Linked DNA regions of Homo sapiens: region 2 is linked to region 1. The links are contacts of gene promoters, found by promoter capture Hi-C in human tissues and cell types (Jung and others, 2019). All regions are on one chromosome and are shown on one strand. The core of a region is centred on a gene start or on the middle of the fragment in contact, and the rest is flanking DNA. Distances in the headings are between cores, read along the strand shown. Region 1 holds the start of TYROBP (transmembrane immune signaling adaptor TYROBP). Region 2 has its middle 22 kb from the start of SDHAF1.

Region 1 (6,340 bases), core at 1,240-3,739:
CAATCCTTGCCTCCTCAAAAAAGAATTTGACCAAGGGACATAAGGCAGAGTGAGAAACCAAGGTAAGTTTTAGAGCAGGAGTGAAAGTTTATTATTATTATTATTATTATTATTATTATTATTATTATTATTATTATTTTGAGACTGAGTTTCGCTTTTGTTGCCCAGGCTGGAGTGCAATGGCGCAATCTCTGCTCACTGCAACCTCTGCCTCCTGGGTTCAAGCGATTCTCCTGCCTCAGGCTCCTGAGTAGCTGGAATTACAGGCACGCGCCACCACGCCAGGCTAATTTTGTATTTTTTAGTAAAGACCGAGTTTCTCCATATTGGTCAGGCTGGTCTCGAACTGCCGACCTCAGGGGATCCGCCCACCTCGGTCTTCCAAAGTGTTGGATTACAGGCGTGATCCACCGCGCTTGGCCCTTTATTATTATTATCATTATTTTGAGACAGAGTCTTGCTGTGTCGCCCAGGCTGGAGTGCAGTGGCGCGATCTCAGCTCACTGTAACCTCCACCTTCCAGGTTCAAGGTATTGTCTTGCCTCAGCCTTCTGAGTAGCTGGGACTACAGGTGCCCACCACCATGCCCAGGTAATTTTTTGTATTTTTAGTAGAGACCGGGTTTCACCATGTTGGCCAGGATGGTCTCGATCTCCTGACCTCGTGATCCGCCCGCCTCAGCCTCCCAAAGTGCTGGGATTACAGGCATAAGCCACCGTGCCCAGCCTAATTTTTAGTAGAGATGGGGTTTCACCATGCTGGCCGGGCTGGTCTTGAACTCAACCAGGCATTATTCTAATAGACCTCACAATATCCTCACAAATATCCCAGCAGCCTGGCCTCCCTGCTCCAGTCCCTGCCTCCACAGTCTGCTCCCCACCTGCGGCCGGAGGGAACCTGTGAACCCCTGAGTCAGGTCAGGGCCCTCCTGGCTCAGAGCCCTGCTCTGGTCTCTGACTGCCCCCTCGCCCACTCTGCTCCAACACATTGGGTGGCCTGGTGTGCCCGGGAGGACCTACAGGGTCTGTTCCCTCCATGCTCGCTCTAGACACAATGGGAGAGGCTTGGGTTTTTAAGGGAGGGGACTCAGCCAGGCCTGAACAGTGGTGACCGTGGGCTGAGCTGGGACCTGACCCTCCTCCAGGCTCCAAATCTCCTCTCCTCCCTTCCCCCACAGGCCACTGGGCATCTGCCCTGTGACCAGAATCCAGTTTCCCCTTTTTTCTCCTAAGCCCAGGCCCAAGGAGCGGTGGGTGTGACGTGTGGATGGGGGAGGGGGGCTTCCTGCAGCTGTCTCATCCTCCAGCACCCTAACCTCAGGTTCCTCCTTCCCCAGCCCCAGGCTCCAGCTGGGGGCTAGAAGTCCCCGTCTCCTTGGGGTGGCCTCCCTTGGGCCTTGCTCCCAGCCACTTCCTCATTCAGCAGGAGAGCCAGCCACCTGCCTCTCCCCAAGCCGCCAGCCGTGCCTCTGTGTCTGTGCCACTGCCTTACTCTCACCTTTCTCAGCTTTGCCGCTGTTTTCTCCTTCCCCATCTTTCATCTTTGTTTTTCCCCCTGACTCTTCCCTAGTCAAAAACCTGATTTTGGGTCTTGGGTTCCATTTCCACCTTGATTTGCTGTGCAGCCTTAGGCAAGCGTCTCTACCTCTCTGAACAATGGGGATGATAAGAGCATGTGCCCTAGAAGGGCATTGCGGGGACTGAATGATTTAACGCTTGGGACAGAGTGCCTGCATGTCATTAGTGCCCACATGCTGCTGGCTCTTTTAATATCCTTTAAACAGCACAAGTTTCTGATGATTAAATAATCATCATCATAGCTGATGCTTTTAAAAAGCTGACAAGGGTCAGACCCTGGTCTAGGAACTTTAATTCATTTAATCCCCACAACTCTAAAAAGTAGGTCCCATTTTACTCCCAATTTTACAGATGAAGAAACTGAGGTTGGAGCTGGGTGCGGTGGCTCACACTTGCAATCCTAGCACTTCGGGAGGCCAAGGTGGGTGGATCACCTGAGGTCAGGAGTTTGAGACCAGCTGGCCAACATGGTGAAACCCTGTCTCTACTAAAAAAAAAAGAAAAAAAAATACAAAAAATTAGCCGGGCATGGTGGCAGGCGCCTATAATCCCAGCTACTTGGGAGGCTGAGGCAGGAGAATCACTTGAACCCGGGAGGCAGAGGTTGCAGTGAGCCGAGACCGTGCCATTGCACTCAAGGTTGACCAGCCAGGAAGAGGCAGAGCTGGTTTCAATCAGCCAGAGGAAGGTCATGACACTGACCCTCCTGTTAAAACGATGTCTGACCCCTGACTGGGGACGGAGGTGAAGTTTGTGCTTCACGTACCCTTTGCCCTTCACGTCTAGTTGCTGGGGGCCTGTGGCATGGCCCCTGGGTGTCTGGGCCTGATTCTTTCTTGGGTTTTGTTTCTGTCTCTCCTCCCCTGTCTCCTCCTCCCTTCTGCCACCACCCGCCTCAGACTTCCTCCTTCACTTGCCTGGACGCTGCGCCACATCCCACCGGCCCTTACACTGTGGTGTCCAGCAGCATCCGGCTTCATGGGGGGACTTGAACCCTGCAGCAGGCTCCTGCTCCTGCCTCTCCTGCTGGCTGTAAGTGGTGAGTTAGGGGCTTCCGTGGCTGCCTCCCGGGTCCCTGGGCTCAGCTTGGGGCAGGGCAGGGAGTGGGGTGGAACGAGAGAACCAAAAGTGGGTGTTGGGATGGGAGCAGGTCCCCAACCTCCCAAAGCCTGTGGGTTTCTCCCAGAGCCCAAGCCCCCAAGTTTTGTCGTCCGCTACAAGCAGGGGAGAAGAGACATCTAAGTGTGTTGCCACAGGACAAGTTGTGCAGAAGTAACGCACATAGTCCGGTGGCCCAGACGCCAGCCCCCTGAGTCCCGCCAGACACGCTCTCCCCCTTGCTAACCTCTTGGCTGTCAGGATCCACCTTCCCTGGCTTCTAAACTTGCCTCCCCCACCCCCGTCATAACTCTGTGCCTCAGTTTACCTTCTTTTTCCTCCTCAGGTCTCCGTCCTGTCCAGGCCCAGGCCCAGAGCGGTAGGCCTAGACCCAGCAGTCCCTCTCTCTACCTCCCAGAGACCTCCCTGTCTCCGTCTCTCCCACACCCTTTCCAAACCTCCCTGCCGCTGACCCCCCTCCCCACAGTTCCCAGCACACACTGACCTCCCCTGACCCCTGTGCTGCAGATTGCAGTTGCTCTACGGTGAGCCCGGGCGTGCTGGCAGGGATCGTGATGGGAGACCTGGTGCTGACAGTGCTCATTGCCCTGGCCGTGTACTTCCTGGGCCGGCTGGTCCCTCGGGGGCGAGGGGCTGCGGAGGGTGAGTGGGGCTAGCAGGGGACATCCTGAGGACTTGCCTAGATGGGGGTGGGGGGCTGGGTAAACTCCCAGATCTCAAACATCCAAAGGGATGGTAATGGAGGTGCTGATTTGGAATGACAAAACACCCTCAACTCACCACTCTGCCTGTCTCTGCACCCCACAACACCCCTCACCTCCAGCAGCGACCCGGAAACAGCGTATCACTGAGACCGAGTCGCCTTATCAGGTGAGAAAACCAGACTGTCCTCCTCACATTTCACTCCTGCCAGGGATATCTGCCCCAGATACTCCTTCATGCCATCAGAGGGACCTCAAAGCCACTCTGCCTAAAGCACCCCCAAACCTTGAAGGCACATGGGACATCTGTCCAAAACTGGGCCGAATGATCAACCACAAGCTTATGGTCAGCTTAAAATGTGTGAAGAGGGGCTGGGCACGGTGACTCAAACCTGTAATCCCAGCACTTTGGGAGACAGAGGCGGGTGGATCACTTGAGGTCAGGAGTTCGAGACCAACATGGTGAAACCCTGTCTCTACTAAAAATACAAAATTAGCTGGGCGTGGTAACGCATGCCTGTAATCCCAGCTACTTGGGAGGCTGAGGCAGGAGAATCCTTTGACCCAGGAGGCGGAGGTTGCAGTGAGCCAAGATCACGCAATTGCACTCCAGCCTGGGCAACAAGAGGAAAACTCTGTCAAAAAAAAAAAAGCGTGAAGAGTTAAAAAGAAAAAAAAAAGGGTGGCTTTGCCTTTGTAAGTGTAAACACAGGCCTTGCCAGAAGTCAGGCCAGGAATTTTCTGGAAGAAACCCAGCCCTAGGACGACTGATTTCTGGGAGACGCTCTCAGTAGGGCAGAGAATGTCATTCAGCCCTACCTTGGTAACTCTAAAGAGAGGAGTCCTAGAATCTCTTTTTTGGGTTTGAGGACCCTTCATCCCTTTGAGAAACTAAGAAAATCTAGACTCCCAGAAAAATCTACACAAAAAATACAAAATTGTGCATATAATCTGAGAGCAGTGTAAATGTTCTTTATAATTAAAAAAAATTTTTTTTTGGCCAGGCATGGTGGCACACACCTGTAATCCCAGCACTTTGGGAGGCCAAGGTGGGTGGATCACGAGGTCAGGAGTTCAAGACCAGCCAGGCCAGGATGGTGAAACCCCATCTCTACTAAAAATACAAAAATTAGCTGGGCATGGTGTCATGCGCCTGTAATTCCAGCTTCTCAGGAGGCTGAGGCAAGAGAATCGCTTGAACCCAGGGGGCGGAGGTTGCAGTGAGCCTGGGCGACAGAGTGAGACTCCATCTCAAAAAAAAAAAAAAGACAGGGGTCTCACTATGTTGCCCCAGCTGGTCTCAAACTCCCAGTCTCAAGTGATCCTCCCGCCTCAGCCTCCGAAAATCTTGGGATTACAGGCTCAAGCAACCATGCTGGTTGAGTATTCTTGAAGCTCTTTTTTCTTTCTCTACTTTAATTTTTTTTTTTTTTTGAGATGGAGTCTCATTCTGTCACCCAGGCTGGAGTGCAATGGTGTGGTCTCAGCTCACTGCAACCTCCACCTCCCAGGTTCAAGCGATTCTCTTGCCTGAGCCTCCCGAGTAGCTGGAACTACAGGTGCATGCCACCACACCCGGCTAATTTTTGTATTTTTAGTAGAGATGGGGTTTCACTATGTTGGCCAGGCTGGTCTCAATCTCCTGACCTCGTGATCCGCCCACCTTTCCCTCCCAAAGTGCTGGGATTAGAGGTGTGAGCCACCGCGCCCGGCCTTAATTTTTTTTTTTTTTTTAAAGTAGAGATAGGTTCTCACTATGTTGCCCAGGCTGGTCTCAAACTCCTGGGCTCAAGAGATCCTGTTACCTCGGTCTCCCAAAGTGCTGGGATTATAGGCATGAGTCACCATGCCTGGCTGAAGCTCTTTTTAAAAACTATAGAGTATACAAGAGAATCTAGTCATCTATCCCCCTCTCTGTCAATGTTCCTTTTTAACCCTTTAGGGGGTCATGAGATTCTCTAAGACCTCTCCCCTGAAGAATGCACGCCCAGACTAGTCATCATATATGATTTTAGGGTTTCTGTCTGAGGCCTGCCCCTGGGGGCCACATAGATCCTCCCCCTACCCCAAGTGTGAACACTGCTGTGTGAAGTCTGATATATTGTCTGCAACCAGCTTTGCCTATTCACCTCACTTGTGGATAAAGTTTCTTTGTGAAGTCTAAGAATCTCAGGTTTGGCTCTGTGATATCCAGAAGACCGAGGGGCCCTTCCAGTTACTGGTGGCAGTGAAATTTTAGGGCAAAGCATTACCCGGATGTATTTATTCCCTCTGTGGATGTGTCTAGCACCTATAAGTGCTAAATGCTGGGGACACAGTGACAGAGTTTATATCCTAGTTAAGACAAACTTAAAGCAAATGAACAAATAAAATAATTTTGGGAGGCACAGTAAAGGAAATAAACAGGCTTTTTTTTTTTTTTTTACAGTGGCTGGAGTGTGGGGGGAAGAAACTACAGAGGGGAAATTGAGAAATGCCTCTCTGAGGAGGTGACGTGAGCTGAGACTTGAAGGGAGAGGGGATCTAGGGGAACAGAGTTTTAGGCAGAGGAAACAGCACACGCAGGGACCCTGAGGCTGGGGCACACTGATGAGGCAGAGGAGAAGGGGGAACATTGAATGTACTTGAATAAAATCCGGATCTCTTTCATGGCTATAAGGCTGAAGAAGCTGCCAGGGGCCTTGCAGGCCACTGGGAGAAGGCTGGATTTTATTTGGTGGGTCCCTTCCACTGATGGCCCCCATTCCTTTAGGAGCTCCAGGGTCAGAGGTCGGATGTCTACAGCGACCTCAACACACAGAGGCCGTATTACAAATGAGCCCGAATCATGACAGTCAGCAACATGATACCTGGATCCAGCCATTCCTGAAGCCCACCCTGCACCTCATTCCAACTCCTACCGCGATACAGACCCACAGAGTGCCATCCCTGAGAGACCAGACC
Region 2 (6,496 bases), core at 2,095-4,594, 65 kb before region 1:
GTGTTGCATGGATCCCGGGGTGTAGGTCCCACACAGGCCAAAGGGGCAGCTGGCCATGGTGTCCCAGCCCTGGCAGAAGATGAGTGCACTGTTGCCTGGAGCCTGTAAGTGCAGATTCTTGCAGTCACCATTCACCTGCGGGGAGAGGGCAGGTCAAGCTAGAGCTTGGGGGCCCAGTGTCAGTACCAAGGATGCCTGGACCCCTGCTTTTAGCAGGGGTTCTGGGGGGCCAGTTGAGGGGCTGGGGGTCTGTCCACAAACCTAGAAATGCTTGGACTGCTGTTCATGATCCTGACCACCCTTTTCAACAAATCTTGAGAGGTAAGAATTATGGATTCTGGAGGTTGGGACTATAGTTTTCCTCAATTAGAATTGATATAGTTTATGTGCAGAATAGGCTGGGTGCAGTAGGTGATGCTTTAATCTCAGCAACTTGGGAGGCCAAGGCGGGCCAATTGCTTGAATCCTGGAGTTCGAGGCCAGCCTGGACAACACAGTAAGACCCTGTCTTTCCAAAAAATGAACATACATATTGACTTGCACCTGTAGTCCCAGCTACTAGAGAGGCTACAGGGGCAAGAGGTGAGAGGATTGCTTAAGTCCAAGTGGTTGAGGCTACAGTGAGCCGCGGTCCCACCACTGCATTCTAGCCTGGGCAAGAGTGAGACTGTCTCAAATACATACATACACACACACACACACACATACACACACACACACACACACACACGTGTATAAAATAGAACAGTTCTCAGCTCATAGTTGGTGCTCAATAAATATTTGTCGAACTAATGCATGAATGAATAAATGAATGAGGTTCATAGGTGATGCTGGTCTATAAGCATTCCAAGGATGCTGGACTTTCTAAGTAATGGCAGGGGTTCCAGGGTGCTGTGATGACTGGTACTGGGCAGGGGGTGGGCCCACAGCAGCTACAAATGCCTGAACTGCTGTCCATGGTTCTGATCGTTGTTGTCCACAGCAGTTGTGTTTGGCATCTAGGATTTGGGGGGCTGTGAGGGTTTGTAAACATTGGGGATTGGGACTTTAGAACTCCTGGATCCTATATGGGGGTGCCCAGGACCTGGACTGAGAGTGTGTTCTGAAATTCAGTTAACATACTTAAAGAAGCACTTCAAATAGTGCCTGGAACACAGTAGATACTCAATATATGGTTGTTGAATGAGGAAATGGAATTATTGGCTCAGAACTGGGTTCCAAGATCCCAGAGTCTGACACTTCTGGTACACTGGGGCTTGCCCTTGAGATTCTAGGATTTTGTTTTTGACAGAGTCTTGCTCTGTCGCCCAGGCTGGAGTGCAGTGGCACAATCTCGGCTCACTCCAATCTCCACCTCCTGAGTTCAAGCGATTCTCCTGTCTCAGCCTCCCTAGATTCTGGGATTATAGGCACCTGCCACCACACCCAACTAATTTTTGTATTTTTAGTAGAGATGGGGTTTCATCATATTGGTCAGGCTGGTCTTGAACTCCTGACCTCAGATTATCCGCCTGCCTCAGCCTCCTAAAGTGCTGGGATTACGGGCATGAGCCACCGCGCCTGGCAGGACCCTGTCTCTTAAAAAAGGAAGAAGCAGCCTGTGTCGCAGGCACAAGTATGCCCGCAGGGCAGTGGTAACCCCCAGTGGGCCTGCCTGTGGGGGGTCTCTGGACAGGATAAGCCACATGGCTCATAGTGATTGTTTTCGGGGCACTCAATAGCTGCAGGGGCAGGAGTGGGGATGGAGAAAGACAGGAAGGGAAAGGTATTCACACCAGGACTCCCAGGTCTGGTTTCCAAGACCCAAGCATTTGGCCACCCCTATAGTGCAAATGTCCCTGCTCTCAGCTTCCAGGAATCCCTACCAACATCCTGTGGTCCTCACCCTCTAGAATGGAGCTCTCCAGGCAACAGACCCAGCAATCCCTGCCTCACAGAGTAAAGAAGTCTCTGTGCTAAGAAACCAGAAGTCCACTCCCCAGAACATAGAAGTCTGGCTCTGGGACAGGCGTAGTGGCTCACATCTGTAATCCCAGCATTTTGGGAGGCCAAGGTGGGAGGATCACTTGAGCTCAGGAATTAGAGACCAGCCTGGGCAACATAGGAAGACCTCATCTTTACAAAAAAAATTAAAAAATTATCTGGGCATAGTGGCACATGCCCGTGGTCCCAGATACTTGGGAAGCTGAGGAGGGAGGATGGCTTGAGCCTGGGAGGTTGAGGCTGCAGTGAGCTATGATAGTACCACTGCACTCCAGCCTTGGCAACAGAGTGATACCCTGTCTAAATAAACAACAGAGTGACATCCTGTCTAAATAAATAAATAAGTCTGGCTCTGGGACTCAGAGCGCTCACCCCAGATACTGGAGTTGTCACCACCTAGGTGTTCTAGTCTCTAGAACTTGAGAACCCAGCAGTCCCAGCCCTATAGCCAAGTTGTTCCCATGCCCAGGACCCAGAAGCCCTGGCCCCAGACCCAAAGAGCCCTGTCTCTGGGCCCTAGAATTATTTTCCCCGCACCCCCCAACTCAGCAGTCTTGCCCCCAGGACCCAGAGGCTGTCCCCTTCCAGGGACCCTACACCCTTGCCCCAGGAATCAGCCTCCAGAACTAAGGAGTGTCATTCCTAAGTCCCAGAATCCCCTTTACCCAGCAGCCTATAACCCTTTCCCTTGAAGGGTCACTCACGGCAGCCAGCCCAGAAGCTCGAGGGCTCAGTGTTGACACTGAGGCCTGACAGGGTGTACACAGACATGGAAGCACTCCCAAAGCGTAGGCAGGGAGCTGGGGAAGGGGCATATCCAGGCACGGCACTGGCCTCGAAGGGTGTAGGTGTCACACTTGGTGGCAGTGGCTAAGGGGCCCCTTTGGGGCTACAGGGACAGCACAGGGCCCCCAGTCTCCTGTGGGGACTAAGGCTTGGCTCAGGGTATCAGGTGGCTGCGGGGCCCAAATGCACGAAGACCAGTGGATCTGGACTGCCCATGTCATGGTCCTGCCTGAATGAAGTCACTGCACAGTCTGCCTTGTGTGAGTGGCAACCTTCAGCCACGTGCAGTGACGTGTGTGCTGCCGGTTGTAAAAGAGATGCAGTGTGGGCGGTTCTTGCTCCAGACCTGCCTCTGCCCATGGTTCTGAGGTGTGGAAGTACAACCATAGCCATCTGTCGCCCAGGATAACTGACAGCCCCAGCTGCTGTGGGTTCCCCTGCAGGAGTGACCAAGAGCTGGGGTCTTCAGAGGGGCTGAATTCCTGAGCATCGGGGAGGGGTGGAGGATAAGGAGGTTGAGGGGGTTGGATTCTGGGATATTGAGAGTGGGGCCTTTGCAGATCTAGGATGCCCCACCCTCGTCTACTAACCAAGAATCTTTCTTTTTCTTCTTCTTCTTCTTTTTTTTTTTTTCGAGACAGAGTCTCACCCTGCCGCCCAGGTTGGAGTGCAGTGGCACAGTCTCGGCTCACTGCAAGCTCCGTCTCCTGGGTTCACGCCATTCTCCTGTCTCAGCCTCCCCAGTAGCTGGGACTACAGGCGCCTGCCACCACGCCCCGTAATTTTTTGTATTTTTAGTAGAGACAGGGTTTCACTGTGCTAGCCAGGATGGTCTCGATCTCCTGACCTTGTGATCCGCCCACCTTGGCCTCCCAAAGTGCTGTGATTACAGGTGTGAGCCACCGTGCCCAGCTAACCAAGAATCTTTCTGTGTGTGTGTGTGTGTGTGTGTGTGTGTGTGTGTGTGTGTGTGTGTGTGTGTGTTTAAGTAGAGACGAGGTTTCGTCATGTTGCCCAGGCTGGTCTGGAACTCCTGAGCTCAAGCAGTCTGCCCACCTTGGCCTCCTAAAGTGCTGGGATTGTAGATGTGAGCCACCATGCCCAGCCTCTATCCGGGAATCTTTTTTTTTTTTTTTTTTTTTTTTGAGACAGAGTCTCGCTCTGTCTCCCAGGCTGGAATGCAGTGGCGAGATCTTGGCTCACTGCAACCTCCACCTCCCAGGTTCAAGCAATTCTGCTCTCTCAGCCTCCTGAGTAGCTGGGATTACAGGCGTGCACTACCATGCCAAGCTAATTTTTGTAGTTTTAGTAGAGACAGGGTTTCACCATGTTGGTCAGGCTGGTTTTGAACTCCTGACCTCGTGATCCGCCCGCCTTGGCCTCCCAAAGTGTTGGGATTACAGGCGTGAGCCACTGTGCCCGGCCTTCTTTTTTTTTTTTTTTAAACTGGGAGTCTTGATTTCAATATCCAGATTTGTCCTAACACAATACTTGCAAGTCCTCTTCTCAGGAATCTAGATGAGTAATCCTACCAAGGAGCCAGGTGTGCCCACCTCATCCAGTAAACAGGAGAGCCTTCAGACAGGACCCAAGGGCTTCCCCCATTACCAAGAGCCTCCACCTGTCCTTCCAGATCAAGGGGTACCTCCTTTCTCCCAGTCCATGATTTCCTTATTTTGCCTCACTTGGTGGTTTCCAGCCCACATTTCTCCTGCGTTCACTGCCCCACCCTGGTCCAAGCCCCATTGTCTCCTGCCGGGACTACTGCAGCAGCCTCCTCACTGTTGTTCCTCCAGGCCTCATTCCTTCACAAGCCCTGTAATCTGTTCTCAACTGGCAGCCACAGGGATGTTGTTAGTGTCTGATATAGTTTGGCTATTTGTCCCTGCCCAAATCTTGGCAGGGCGCAGTGGCTCACGCCTGTAATCCCAGCACTTTGGGAGGCTGAGGCAGGTGGATCACCTGAGGTCAAGAGTTCCAGACCAGCCTGGCCAACATAGTGAAACCCCGTGTCTACTAAAAACACAAAAATTATCCGAGTGTGGTGGCATGTGCCTGTAGTCCCAGGCTACTTGGGAGGCTGAGGCAGGACAATTGCTTGAACCTGGGAGGCAGAGGTTGCAGTGAGCCAAGATCTCACCACTGCACTCCAGCCTGGGCAACAGAGTGAGACTCAGTCTCAAAAAAAAAAAAAAAATTCTAAAATTCCAATTAATTGAGGAAGGAACACAGGAGTGTCAAGTCCTTGGGAAAAGAGGGATCATGTTGGTGAGAGTATAAGTCTGGAGCCCTGAGTATCTGAAGGTTCTGGATACCTGGGGTGGGGGCTACTGGATGCTGGGGAGCCTTAAGAGCACTGGGGGGCATCCTGACCCCTGAGTGGCAGGGCAAACTCCCAGGCGGTGTGGAGGCAGGTATGCAGCATCATGGCTTCACGTCTCGGGTCCTAGCTTTGCATATTTTCTGTGCTTTCCATATATTAGCTCATTTAATCCTCACTACAGCCCTATGAATCAGATCTTTTCATCATTCTCATTTCACATATGAAGAAATTGAGGCCCAGAGAGGTTAAATAATTTATCCAAGGTCACATAGATATCAAGTGCCAAACCGGAATTTGAACCCAGGCCACCATTGTTTTTCTATAGTGGTGCTGAGGGGTGGCCTAGTGTGGCAAGCCACATCTCATGAACGCAGGCCTCCATAACAACTGTTTTAGCACTGACTGTGGTTGGGTTAAATACTAAAAGCTGATAGAGGCCAGGAGCGGTGGCTCACGCCTGTAAGCCCAGCACTTTGGGAGGCTGAGGCAGGAGGATCATCTGAGGTCGGGAGTTCGAGACCAGCCTGGCCAATATAGTAAAGCCCCGTCTCTACTAAAAATACAAAAAAAATTAGCTGGGCATGGTGGTGCACACCTGTAATCCCAGCTACCTGGGAGAGTTGAATCTGGGAGGAGGAGGTTGCAGTGAGTTGAGATGGCGCCACTGTGCTCCAGCCTGGACAAGAGAGTGAGACTCCGTCTCAAAAAAGAAAAAAGAAACAAAACAAAAAACGCTGGTAGAGCCAGCGTCCATACAAAGGCTGGAATGTAACAAAAGCTCACCAAGAGTTTAGGCCAGGCCTTTCCTGGCCCTTGAGGCATGACAAGATCATGAAGGAATTCCTTTATTTTTTGTTTTTTTGAGACAGAGTTTCACTCTTGTTGCCCAGGCTGGAGTGCAATGGCGCGATCTCAGCTCACCACAACCTCCACCTCCCAGGTTCAAGCAATTCTCTTGCCTCAGCTTCCCGAGTAGCTGGGATTACAGGCATGCGCCACCATGCCCAGCTAATTTTGTATTTTTAGTAGAGATGGGATTTCTCTGTGTTGGTCAGGCTGGTCTCGAACTCCCGACCTCAGGTGATCCTCCCGCCTCAGCCTCCCAAAGTGCTGGTATTACAGGCATGAGCCACCATGCCCAGCCTCACGAAGGAATTCTTAACAGTTCCCATTTAAGATTATACAAGCTTTATTGGGGGTCTGAAGGAACTCCCCAGACCTTCACAAACAAGCTTTATTGGAGACTAAAGGAACTCCCCAAGCCTCCATAATTTAGCAGGAGACAAGATAAGGGTAATCACCCCAGCACCTGGACCCATTTAGATGAAGTAAATTTACTCATGTAAGTTTGCATTCATCTAAAGACATAAGTGATTAATTTCTTCTAATATAGCCTAGAATGTA

What was found. The method cuts DNA at HindIII sites, captures the fragments that hold promoters and counts their contacts. A contact is called where the count stands out against the background at its distance.
Region 2: a fragment that was not itself captured here is called in contact with the fragment with the promoter of TYROBP in region 1 in 6 of the 25 tissues and cell types used here (H1 embryonic stem cells, dorsolateral prefrontal cortex, lymphoblastoid cells and 3 more).

Annotation. Positions count from the first base shown.
Region 1 is chr19:35,904,444-35,910,783 of GRCh38, reverse strand. It overlaps TYROBP (transmembrane immune signaling adaptor TYROBP), which reads left to right and starts at 2,489. Exons shown (of 5, transcript NM_003332.4): 1 at 2,489-2,616; 2 at 3,022-3,054; 3 at 3,204-3,338; 4 at 3,520-3,566; 5 at 6,150-6,340. The coding sequence starts at 2,556. The coding sequence ends at 6,215. RefSeq lists enhancers at 973-1,082, 1,183-1,232, 1,383-1,512 and a silencer at 3,324-3,477. The HindIII fragment of the contact is 6,909 bases long and covers 1-5,215 here.
Region 2 is chr19:35,970,280-35,976,775 of GRCh38, reverse strand. No RefSeq gene overlaps it. Among named protein-coding and RNA genes, the nearest start is that of SDHAF1, 22 kb to the left of the region's middle. RefSeq lists silencers at 822-1,022, 3,022-3,222. The HindIII fragment of the contact is 9,546 bases long and covers 1-6,496 here.